Linked DNA regions of Homo sapiens: region 2 is linked to region 1. The links are contacts of gene promoters, found by promoter capture Hi-C in blood cells and fetal thymus (Javierre and others, 2016). All regions are on one chromosome and are shown on one strand. Each heading gives the region's core, a stretch centred on a gene start or on the middle of the fragment in contact. The rest is flanking DNA. Distances are from core to core; before and after follow the strand shown.

What was found. Contacts are between HindIII fragments. The CHiCAGO score rates a contact against its expected background, and 5 or more counts as called.
Region 2: a contact is called between a fragment that was not itself captured here and the fragment with the promoter of CNTNAP2 in region 1, in 1 of 17 cell types (total B cells). The highest score is 5.1, in total B cells.

Annotation. Positions count from the first base shown.
Region 1 is chr7:146,112,570-146,119,045 of GRCh38, reverse strand. CNTNAP2 (contactin associated protein 2) reads right to left here and starts at 2,245. Exons shown (of 24, transcript NM_014141.6): 1 at 2,073-2,245. The coding sequence starts at 2,169. The HindIII fragment of the contact is 7,089 bases long and covers 1-5,022 here.
Region 2 is chr7:145,038,424-145,045,422 of GRCh38, reverse strand. It overlaps the pseudogene RPL7P59. Among named protein-coding and RNA genes, the nearest start is that of TPK1, 210 kb to the right of the region's middle. The HindIII fragment of the contact is 635 bases long and covers 3,761-4,395 here.

The DNA of each region.
Region 1 (6,476 bases), core at 996-3,495:
TCATTAATGTAAAGTACAGTTGATATTTAAAGTACTGAATCCATGAAACTCATTCTAATCAATAAAGTTCTGTAGCATCCTTATTATTTAATTCATTTCCAGGATATAGGGCAACTTTGCATTTTGGTCACACAGTTTAAATTCAAACGAAATAAAAAGCCACCTTAATTAAGCCATTACACATTTTTAAACAATAGAGAATGAAAGCCAAGTTAATAAAAAATCTTAATGGCCATAACTATTAACCATCTTAAAAGTAATTGTTTCTATGTTCTCTGTCTTCAAATTCTAACTATAAAGTTGAAAACTCAGAAAATATTTATGAAATAACAACTTTTTTATCTTAAAATGCATTAACCCAAGGGCTGCCAGTGTTCCATTTGCTACTCATGGCAGATGTTTCAGATGGACCCATCAAAATTAAAGTATACAGAATGATGGAACACAGAACCCAGGAAAAACCCTGGATATGAGGACCTTCAATCAGTGAATATAATAAATTTAATATATGAGGAGTTTATTTTCCAGGAAAAGTGGCAGGAAATTCTATACAACCAGACCTTGAAATGGAAACAGAAATTTCATCAAACTAGTTTCCCAGTGATAGAGTTACATATTTGTGTAAATATCAACAGCAAGCATTATATCCCCAAAATTTGTTTAAATTTATAAAATTGACATAAATATTAACAATATTTAACTCTTTGTGATTTAACTTGTGTTATAAAAAATGCTATACAATGTTTTCAAGTTCATTACAAACTTAGATTGCCAGTTAGTTTATCTCCTTATCTTTACACATTGTGGGAAAAGAAAAGCTAATACTGTACTTAGGAAGATATGTCAAAACAGTAATACTGGCTCATAACCGGATATTATATAGTAGATTCCTTATTACAACTTATAATGTCCTTTTTCAATGCTATTCCTGTTGATATTTACCACTACAATAAGATCATTATTAACAAAGATGCATTAATACATCCCAAAATCTTAGAAACAAAGACTACTTCGCATATGACGAATTCTGGAAAATATTAAACTTTTCTTTTCCTAAATGGACAAAAAAATCTTCCTTTTAAACTCTGAAATCTCCACGATAATTCTTTATCAACTTACTCATTCTCAGAAACTAGTATGCGCTTATGAATATTATCCTAAGATTCCTATAGGCAGTCTTTCTAGTGTTTAACTCTTTCTGAACCAAAGGAACAATCATGCATTTCCTCTCTACATGCACAGTATGCACTTCTAAAGGAATGCAGAAAATGGGCCAGAATCTTCCATTTCTTTCTAAACCTCATGAAAACAGGGGCAGTCTTAAACACACACACACACAAACACACACACACAGTTGATTAAAATGCAGAGATATACATATTGAATATAATTATTTTCCTGAAAACCCTATTAAGAATCTGTTTATTACTACATTAACGACGCTTTGCACTGAGTGTCCCAAGTACCGTACTGCATCAGTCATATCCATGATATCAAAGTATCAAAGAATTAAAGCAATTTCAGTTACAATTTCGCTGCCTTCCATTTTAATAAGCAAGTACTAAATGGGCATTAACTTTTTAAGGGAACGGGAGAGGTTAAAGAGACCCTATAGGTGCCCAAACTGTTTAAAACATGCTCCTCTTGTTAACCTCAACCCCGTGCTCATTAAGTTATAACCATAAATAAAAATAAGAAACTTGGTTTTGCCATGGTCTTCACTTTTCATTCACTGACCTACCTAAGCCAAATGCAGTTAACTCTCCCTGCACAAACAACTCCTAAGAAGCTGCCATCTACATCAGTCTCTCTAGCCAAGCTCTTGCCAACCGATCACCAAGACCAGGAACAACTTTCCAGAAACATCACCAGCGTCACAACCCTGTCTCTTCCAAAACAGAAACGCTGGGTTTCGAGTTTGTCTACTGCAGTGGCTGCAAGTGTGTGACAGCGGAGACACAAACACATCAGGGTGCCAGCACTGCGATGCACTTCGGAGTTGATACCCTGGTGCCAAACATCAATGCCGCACTGAAACTGCTCCAGAGCAGAGCGAGGAGACGGCTACTTACGGGACGTGGAGGGAGCCGTCCAGGCTCTGCAGAGGCAGCTGCTGACAATCCACAGCAGGAGCGCTGCCCCGCAGCCGGCGCGCGGAGCCGCCTGCATCCTTCGCCTCCCGGCCGGCGGCGCTCCAAGAGCTCGCTGCGGAGATGCAGTCCGACTCTCCGTAGGGTTCTTGAAGGGAGATGGGCTGTCCTCAAATACGCGAGGAAGCCAAGCCCCTCCCGCTTCCTCTTCTCCCCTCACCCCCCTCCAGGCTCCAGTTCTTCCGGGCTTGGAGCGGCAGGGGAGTCTCAGCCTTCGTTCTCCCTCCGTGCGGGTATTGCCTCTTGCACTGTGTGCCAGTGCAACGCCGGGGGAGGAAATTCAAACCAAGAAGGCAAAGGAGGGGGAAGAGGGGAGGGAACGGACACCTACCCCGCCCTCTCCTTCTTGAAAAAAAAAAATCACCAAAGGACGGGGGAGGGAGGTAATCAGAAGAGCAGAGGCTGCAGAAGAGGAAGGCAGAGCGACGGGGACGGTGGTGCAGCTGTTGCCACTGCGGGCGAGCGCTCCCTCCGCCGCCGGGCAGCGTGACTCGAGGGGTTTCCACTCGCCTGTCAGCTCACATGGAGAGCTTGTGTATGTGGGGAGCGCGCAGCGCAGCCGGGGCGCACGCACGGCCTCAGCGCTGCGCCGCGCGAGGAAGCATCTCCCGGGCGGCGGAGCGCGAGCAGCAGCAACAGCCGCGGAGAGCAGGAGACGCCGCCGCCGCCGCCGCCGCCGCCAGCTCCTGTGAGCCCGGGCGGCGAGCGAGGCGGAGGGAAGCCCTCCCTTCTCTTCCCTTCTCGGTTCCCTCCTCGGCTCCTCCTCCTCCTCCGCCTCCTCCTCCTCTTCCTCCTCCTTACCGTACCCCTCTGGCTGTCAAAACCCTTCTGCCCTGCCCTGGCCTCGTTTGAAAGCAAAAGGGAGACTGAGCCGACCGGCCGGGGTCCATCAGCTGGGGCGGGGGCGGAGCAAGGAGGCGCGCGCCTCTCCCTGGGCGGGAGGTGATGCTGTCCGCGGTGCTGAAGTTGGGGATTTGCCGTGTAATCCTAGAACCCTGCTCCAAACCTGGCTGCCCCCTACCCGGCTGCAGGAAGGAGAACACCCTCGCTCGGATGCCTTCTCCTTTCCTTCTCTCCTCCCCTTCAGATAAAGATGGTACAGGCTCCTGGAGCTCCGGCCCCCCGGGAACCACAGTCAGGCGTCCGACAGGCAGGTCTTCCGAGTGGTCCTAACACCAAGTGACGGTGCTAAACATCCCGACTGACTGGAGCAGGGAGGGAGGACTGCAGATGCCGTTAATGCACATGTTTTCGATATGTAATTAATTCGTACTCATACATATGCACACGTACACCAAACACACGCTGCTGCCAGGAGAAACTACACTTAGGCAAACACGCATACAAACACAAACACAAAACGGAAATACATAAGCAGGCATATGGGTAACTATTTCAAGGTACCTGAGGCATTGCAAGCACTAAGAATTAAGAATGTTTAGAGAGACCTAGATTTTTTCACATTTAGATAATTTTAATAATAATTATCAAGCTCTTCTCCCCAGCTCACAGCTCTTCACACTCTACCCTCCATATGTTTTTCTTCCATCTAGTCTACTTAAAGTATTTGAATTCTTATGTCTCTGCAGAGCCAAGCATTCCACTGACTTTATTGACACAATTAAAAATTATTGGTCATCTAAATATCTAATGATGTTTGTGGAGGACTAAGTAGGAGTAACCATGTCTTTCGATGTTATGCAATGAATAAGCATTTGCATTTAAAGATAAATAGAAAATTTATGGAGGCTTGCCTAATCCTGGAATAAACTGAGTTTTTAACATCATTGTTTGGTCTTAGAAAGGTCCACTGTAAATAGTACTGTGTATTCACTGCATAATTAATATGGTGTTAATGGGTCTGATTCAGCGCTTTTTATTTGATCTTTGTTTCTTGTTAATTTAAAAGGATGCTTTGTCCTAGTAAGAACTGCAGATTGGGTACAATATGGAAAATGAAGAAACACACAGATGACTAATGGGAGGTGAACTGCCTCCTCATTCTATAAAATACTCCTCCTGTAAAATAATACAGCAAATGCATTCTTATGGATTATAAAATGTCCCTTTGCTGTTTGAATTATCACAGACTGTCAAAAGTCAATGACCACTTGCCAAAACACTCCAGTAAAGAACTGCCATCAGCCATTTCTAAGAGCTCAAAGAAACAAGTCATAGGAAAAAAAAAAACTGTCAGAAAGCGTAACTTTTCAGAACAATCTATTATTTAACTATGCCTCTCCATTTTAACTATCATACTGAACTCCAATAACATAGCATTAAAGTATTTTCAATAGAAGAAAAAAGGCAGCGATTGAAAGTATTACCATTTCAGTAACTCAATGAATGCTATTCCATGGGTATCTCAAGCAGAACTGAAACAATTCCATTTCCCAGATTACCAAACTAAAAGACATGCAATAGACATCTATTTAATTATTTTGTAACAGAAAATGATATACCTGAGGGTGTATTCTTCTCCAAAGAGCATTCTGATCAGTTTGTAGTAATTTCTCCTAATGAGAAACAACAAAACTCAATTTAATAACACATGTAAATACCTGCACCACCTCTGTGCCATATAGGATGGTCTTATTTCATGCCAGTATGAGCTAAGAGCCTGCTTTAATCTGTTTTCAATGCACTTTGTCAGGTTTGAAAGTTATGTCACATCATTTGTAACACAACTACCTCTGCCTTCAATTTGTGTTAATTAGATATGGACATCTGGAACTCAAAATACTTAAAGTCTTAAGACTTTAATTGTTGCCAGATCAGAGACTCCCTAGAGTATAATGCTATGTTCTTCCTATCCAACTCCATTAGAGTTTATATTTTCATCATTATTACAATTAGAATTTAGAATTAAGCTTCTTCTTCCTTCAGTTATCACTATGACTTTTAGTGAGAAGGTAGGAATTAGTAAGTCTGTTTGTTCTGGTCAAACTACACGGTCCAGCAAAACTGGTAATCCAGTCAATGGACTTACAACAGTCCAACCAGATGTCTAGTAGATATGATAAGCATGAAATTTCTTGTTTCTGAGAGTGAATTCATTATTGATTTCTATATTACATTGATGTTTGCAAATAATTGAAGACAGCTAATAATGATTTGAACATATGTCTCCTTAGTTGGAAGTAAGGTCAATTAAAGCTTGAAAGTAGTAAAACTAAGTGGACCAACGGTACACACACACAAACCCACCCACCGGCCCCCCCACCCCAGCCCCACCTCCCCCAAATGCACAGCATGACCAGAAAAGACAGTGGGCAATTTGCATTATTTTGGAAGTAGAGCAATGGAAAATAATAAAGAATAGACATTTTCTCTTTCCCACTGCTCACATCCTCTTTACTTCAACAGATTTTTAAAAAATGTTAGCTTGATCCCATGAGTAGTGACTTCATTAGCAGTATACACATTCTTCATTTGCATCCCCAATATTAATTGAATATCTACTATTATTGGGTTTGGCATTATGCTACATAGAGTTTATGCCTATGACCAAGATGGATATTACACTGGTAGTGAGTGGTTGAATAAACGGACCAAAATAAGTCCATATCATCTTTATGCTAACATTAATTCAAGTAAATCTTGACTGGCTCTTTTTTTCCAATATCTTAATACATTCTTAAAATTAATATTCTCAACAAATATAAAAATTATTTTTATCACAATCATCATTATTATTCCAGAGTTCTGTAAATAGTCTGCCACAATGTAAATTATCTCAAAAGTCTGCCCAAATTTTGGAACTTAAGTGAAAAAAAAGAGTCAAAATATTTCAATCTTAACACTTTGAAGTGATTGCATGAAGCACTGGAAAAATTCAGGAATTTTCAATAGGTTAAAAAAAATTGGTATATGTCTAGGTGAGTGCCTTGGAGTAGAATTTCCTTCTGTAAAGGGAGCTGTCCAACTATGCCCAGAAATCAGTGAATGCCTGCTGAAAAATCGGCCAAATTAGAGTAGATACATTTGCCAGTCTGATTGCACCCTCTAAGAAGGCTTTAGCACCTGCTTCTCTGAAAATATACAAGCTGTCTGGAATGTTATTCTTTAGTGAGCATGAACAGGATAAAGTAGAGTCCCATAGTAAAACCTCTGGTGAGCTGAAAAATCTACCTGGATTTTGGTCCTTTAGCCCTGCTAATTGTCCCTGGGCACTCTGAGATACTTCATATCATAATCAAGTATCAATTGGAATGACATACTGAGGAAGATGCATAAACTTAAAGGGATTTCCAAAATTTCACTTTATTTTAAAGGTCTCAGGGAAATGCATGATACCGAGTGTTATTTGGATTAAACACCTTGAAT
Region 2 (6,999 bases), core at 2,829-5,328, 1.1 Mb after region 1:
GACTTGTAAACTCCTTGATACGAAATTGTAAATGGTTCCTATAACAAATTGCTCATCTAGGGGAGGACTGGGCTCTCCAGGGCACTGGGTGCCATCCCACATTGTGGAGGAGGAGGAAATGGCACGAAGGGCACTAACGAGCTCTAAAGAAAGAAAAGATCAGGCCAGGTGCCGTGGCTCATGCCTGTAATCCCAGCACTTTGGAAGGCCCAGGCGGGCAGATCACTTGAGATCAGGAGTTCGTAACCAGCCTGGTGAACATGGCGAAACCCCATCTCTAATAAAAATACAAAAATTAGCAGGGTGTGGTGGCACATGCCTGTCATCCCAGCTACTTGGGAGGCTGAGGCAGGAGAATCACTTGAACCCAGGAGGCGGAGGTTGCAGTGAGCCGAGATCACGCCATTGCAATCCAGCATGAGCAACAAGAGCAAAACTCCATCTCAAAAAATATAAATAAAATAATAATAATAACAATAATAAAGGAAAGATCAGAGCTGCTGAACACCAGCAGCACAAATTTCACAATTTTGTCTATTTTGGAAAACAGAAATTTCATTAAATGGACAGCACTATACAATCCTGCCTTTTAAAATAATTTTCTTGAAGTATGTTTGCCTTGTACTGATTGCTAATTAAACAGAACTGTCATAGTATGATAGTTACATAATTTCTTCTCATGTTCAGTTTTCAGAAAAATATATTTTAACAATTGACACTTTTTTATTTTTATAAGCAAATGGAATATTTAGATGTTGGTCACTTTTCTCCAGTATGTTCTGTAGATGAACTGAAAAACCCTAATTCCCTGGTACTGCCACCAGAAAATCCATCCTTTTTTTCCTTGTTTGCACTGAGAAACCAGGATTACTTCTCTCCCTTCTGCCCATTTTTCCCAACAAATCACCGTCCCTGTTATTATAAATATTCACTGCTAAGGGCCAGAAGCCACTGAGAACAAAACACAGAATAAGAACAGTACATAAAATTGCTGTGGAGCCTCTGGGTTTTTTGCTGCAATAGACATCTCAGTTGCAGACATCAGATGGATTTCATGAAGTTGGTTGCAAAACCTTGGCCCAAATCAAGGATGTTATTGTTTCTTTTCCCTGCTAATTCTTCATCCTCTCTCTGCTTCTCTCTCTTCCCACGTCTCAGTAAGCCCGCCTGTGTCTCTGTCTGTTTGTCTGTGTCTCTTTTAGGCTATGTGACTCACCTGCAAACTTGCAGCCCAGTGAGTTGAAAACTGTTATCCCATCGTGTCTGAAATTGATTTCTTCTGTCTGAATGGTGCCTCTAGAGTTTGGAGAACAGCTCCAAAAGGATACAGTAATATACAAAAACATGAGTGAGCCCAGAGCTATTCTAAATAAGTTCTTTTTTATTTATAATACATATGGAAGAGAGTGTATATATTTAAAGGAATGGAATGTATTTGCATTAAAATCAGAATCTGATGGTCCACCAAGATATAAAATCAAGCAAGAGCTATCACAAAGTCTGCCTTTCCAACAAGACTCCATGTTGTCCCCTCTGTTCTCATCATGGGTCTACCTAGATCCCACCATCCCATCTGCACATACTGGGTTGGGGCACCTTGACACCCCTGACCTGCCTTTCACTATCCAATGGCCCACCCCACTACAAGCGAATCATCCTTCTGTAACTGCAATGTAAAATTTTTTAAAGAATGGCCATTTTACAAATCATCATAGGATTATTCCATTTTGAAGAATAATTCTGGTAATATGTCAGAATGACTTATCTTCTATGATATTTCAAATTTTCTCACAATTTTCCCCTTTAAGCTTTTTCTTACTTCCATATTTTTAGCTCTTAATTCTTCCTTATCCTTAATCTCATCTAGAATAACAGCTTCAGGCTCTCATCCCATTGGGTTTTGTCATTTTGCCTGAAACTTTTACTGCTTCTTTACAGACGTTTTAGAATTTGGTTTTAGCCTTTATTTTCAATTTGATTTCTCTTATCTCAAATTTTAAATTTTAGCTTTAATGTTTAACATTCTTGTTAGACCTCAACTCCTACTTTATGGGAACGAAAGCGTTAATAAAATACTCTCATGTGTTTAGCTTTTCTTAACATTTTATGTTCTTACAAATGCTTATTTCCCCAATTGTTTCTCTTCTCCCATCCTTTTCAGTATCTTTTTTATAATATTTGTTGAGAAAATTGTGCATTTGTGCTGAAATTCCTTAATGAGTCTAAGTCATCAAAAAATAGGGGTGCATAAATATTTTGTTCCTAGAATTGTCCTTATGATTACTTCACTGGTTTTTCCAAACAGATCTCCTGGACCTAAGTACTTCATAATGATGGATATGAAAAAACAAACTTAAGATACTTAATCTATAGGTTAACCCTTAGAATATAAAATTTTTCCAGGTATGCTTTTCTTCTTAAAAACCTCCTACCATCCAAGCCTTATGTGGAAAGATACAAATTTTGACACTTACCATCTCTGTCCCCATATACTATACTGTACCATGAGCCTGGGTGTTTTGGAAATTCAAAGCTAAGGCAAGGCTCTCCATTCACTGTCCTGGGTCAGAAATCCTAAGCAAGCAGGTGGCGATGGGCCTTCTGATGGTTACTTACGATTCACAATGTGGTAGAGGAACCACAGACATCTTCTACTTACACCTGAATGCTCAACACATTTTCTGGGTTGTGTTATTCCCCTCTCAGAGGAATCATCCAAGAATCTCCTCAGTGTTATAATCCATTGACTTCTTTCTCTCATTGAAAGAGTTAAGACAAAGCTTGCAATGAGAATTTTATCCAAATTCTTCTAGGGGTGGGATGCCCTATTTTGGTCAGAAATTATACTGAAGGATTTCAGGCTACAAAAATATATCAGAACCTAAAGAGAGGGTAGAAACATTTTACTCTAGGCAATGCTTTTTGGTTCTAAGAAAATCTGAGATGACAACTAGATGGAGATGCTCTTCCTAAAGGAAAACTAGATATTCTTCTGGCAAAAAGTAGAATTTCTAAAAGACAATTTAAACAGCCCATCAGGGTATAGACAAGAATCAAATTGCTCCTGATTTTCTGTACTATCTATCACTCCTGTTAAACTCTAGTATGTGGTAATATCTTATTATGAGGTTAATTTGAATTTGGGTAATTAGCAATAGCATTGAACATCTCTTTATGTGTTTGTTGGCCATTTGTGTATGTTCTTTGATGAAGTGTGTTCAAATCTTCTGCCCATTTTTAATTGAGATTTTTTTCTCTTATTATTGAGCTATAAGAGTTAATATATTCTTAATACAAGTGATTTATTAAATACATATTTTGAAAATATATTTTCTAATCTTTGGCCTTTCTTTTTATTTTCTTAAAAACCCAGAGAGGCTATCTATGTGTTTTTGCTGAGATTATGCAGCAAGCCAGCTTGATTCTACTTCTAGCATTATTTCCTCTATGCAGCACTGAGGGCAGTTTTCTCTGCAGAAACTTCACTGACAATTCAGCAAATATACCATAGATCAGGAGCTTATGGATAGGGAGCAGACTGCAGACAGGAATCTGTAATAACTCTGTTGCTTCTTAAGAAGGAATTCTTTGGCAATTTGCTATGTGAGGAGACTTCCAGGCTCAAGTGTTAATTGTAATCCCTTTGTTTTTAAAATAGCTGATCGTAGAATAAATAAATCTTACTTTCTCTTTTTTTTAAAAAAAAACACAGGCCTCAATTTCCTAAAATATTCACTCTATACATAAACAAATGTAAGCTTTAATAGAGTGTCAAAAGTGGCTTTGCAAAAATGTCAATGGGCCAGTTGCTATGAATAGTAGTTTATACATAAGCACAGAATGTTGCTGAATTATTAGAACCCCAGTCATTCAAGACCATGACAATGGCCTCAGAGTTATTCTCATCTCCATAGAAACACACATTCTACCAGAGCATCCCTAATTTGTGAAGAATATTGATATATTTGTGCCAATTCATTCATGTTCTTCCACCTAATCTCCTCAAGTAACTATTGGGTGTTTTGGAAATTTAAATCTAATTTAAATTAGAAGGAGATGCGAAGTGACCCAGACTTGGATTTAACCAAAACCTTTTGTCTAACGCATCTGACCAACTTATGTAATTGTTCTCCCTAACAATGAAACTGGTTAAAATGTTTCCTAATGATCTGAAAGAACTGTTGTTTATACACATAGCAACTAATTTATTTTAAGATAGTTTCAAAAACATTGAGAGGAACCATATTTCCTAAATAATTCACTTTAAAGAAAATGGCAATTTATTATTTACCAACAGATTGTTATACTGCAAAGAGAAAAGATTTTAGAACACACGCACAATTCTCTCCTCAACTGAGACAACTGTGTATTCTTTCTATTTTGTAGATGCAAGCTTCTTTCTCAGTTCCTGTAATGCTCCCTAATGTGAAAATTTCTTTAAAAACTGGAAAATAGAACTTCCTCTTTTTCCAACTGGAACCATGGAGGGTGTAGAAGAGAAGAAGAAGGAGGTTTCTGCTGTGACAGAAACCCTTAAGAAAAAGCAAAGGAATTTCACAGAGCTGAAGATCAAGCGCCTGAGAAAGAAGTTTGCCCAAAAGATGCTTTGAAAGGCAAGGAGGAAGCTTATCTATGAAAAAGAGAAGCACTATTACAAGGAATATAGGCAGATTTACAGAACTGAAATTCGAATGGCGAGGATGGCAAGAAAAGCTGGCAATTTCTATGTACCTGCAGAAGCCAAATTGGCCTTTGTCATCAAGATCAGAGGTATCAATGGTGTGAGCCCAAAGGTCCAAAAGGTGTTGCAGATTCTTCGCCTTCGTCAAGTCTTCAATGGAACCTGTGTGAAGATCAACAAGGCTTCAATTTACATGCTGAGGATTGTAGAGCCATAGATTGCATGGGGGAACCCAAATCTAAAGTCAGTAAATGAACTAACCTGCAAGGGTGGTTATGGCAAAATAGATAAGAAGAAAATTGCTTCGACAGATCATGCTTTGATTGCTCGATCTCTTGGTAACTATGGCATCATCTGCATGGAGGATCTGATTCATGAGATCTATACTGTTTACATGCTGAGGATTGTAGAGCCATAGATTGCATGGGGGAACCCAAATCTAAAGGCAGTAAATGAACTAACCTACAAGGTTGGTTATGGCAAAATAGATAAGAAGAAAATTGCTTCGACAGATCATGCTTTGATTGCTCGATCTCTTGGTAACTATGGCATCATCTGCATGGAGGATCTGATTCATGAGATCTATACTGTCGGAAAATGCTTCAAAGAAGCAAATAACTTCCTGTGGCCCTTCAAATTATCTTCTCTATGAGGCAGAATAAAGAAAACAGCCATCCATTTTGCAGAAGGAGGAGATGCTGACAAGAGGGAGGACCAGATCAACAGGCTTATTAGAAGAATGAACTAAGGTGTCTACCATGATTATTTTTCTAAGCTGGTTGTACCTGCTTTCAAACTGAACAACGACAACAAAAAAAACCTGAAAATAAATACACCTGGAGAAGGTTCCCTAACCCAAGAATGAACCAAGGATTTCTCTGAATTGTGGGCTTGGATTCTTGGCTAGTCATGTCCTTTTATCGATGCTATAAGCATGGTCCCAGCTACCTAGATACAGAGGATAGTCTATTCCAGTTCTTAAAAGGGCAACTCCTTACTTACTTTACCCCAGATTAGCAGACTCATTAATTTATTACACAATCCAAAATGTAAGCTACGTTTCTGCCTGATATCTTTCTGGCACACTGGGCCTTCTTAGGCCTATGGGTCATTAGATTGACTTGCAGACTTTGGACATGATGAATCCTCAGATTACCAAAGTTGTACTCATTTTTTATGTATCAGTTTTTGTAAAAGTCTAAGTTACATATGACTATAGTTTAAGGTTAAATATTCCATTAATGTTGTTAAATAAAATAGCAATTTTCCTGACCACTTCTTCTTGTCCAATTTTCTCCTCTCTACAAGCAGCCACATTCAATTCTATTAAAGCTGATATTTTAAGAAATTTCTTTGATATTATTAAGTAACATGTTTGCTAATTCTTGATTTGTCAGTTTTAGTTTTGTGAAAAGAATACCCATTATGGCAGATGAAGATGAAGCTTCATTTCTTCCCTTACCCCTCTACATTTCCTCTTTCTCCTCTCCCTATCCTCCCGTAGAGTTATACCATAATTTCAATTGATTGATATTCAATATTTACAAGACTACAGTAACACTATTCTCAAAGGAGATATGCAGTAAACCGATTGCTTTCATTTACCGTACAACTCTCTGTCTTGCAGTTAATCATTGTATAATTGTTTAATTTCTATTAAATTAGCATCAATTTAACCCCAAACTTTCTCCCAATCCTGTATCTTCCCTCAGGAAATAGAGACACATAAAGCAATATCTCAATTTCATCTTCTTGAAGAAATATCTCCTGGAGCCCTATGAAGAGTGCTCACATGAACCTGTTGCTTGCTATGCCTTTATCCCTCCTGGACATTCCTTTTTTCTCTCCTCTATCAGAAATAAAATAGGAAAGTATTGATTTTGCTATTCTTTTTAATCCCATACCTTTCTCATTCTTAGGTTACTTATTTTAATAGAGAATATTAGCCAGTATTTCCCTAAGATTGGATGTATTCAGGATAAATTTTTTGAGAACCTACATACCTAAGAATATCTTTATATTTTTTGCATACTTGGTTGATAATTGTCCTGATCATAGAACTATAGATGGAAAATGATTTTTCCTTCAGAATTTTGTGTTCTAGCTTCTAGAATCATAGAGAACCCACATGATTCATGATTCTTTCTCTGTGGTTTTTATTTCCTCTAGAATAGCACTGTTCAATTGAAATATAAGATAATCTACAAATGTTAGCCACATACGCAATTTTAAAATTTTAATAGCACGTTTTAAAATATTAAAAAGAAACAGGTGAAATTAATTTTAGTATTTTATTTAACTAAATATATCCGGATGTT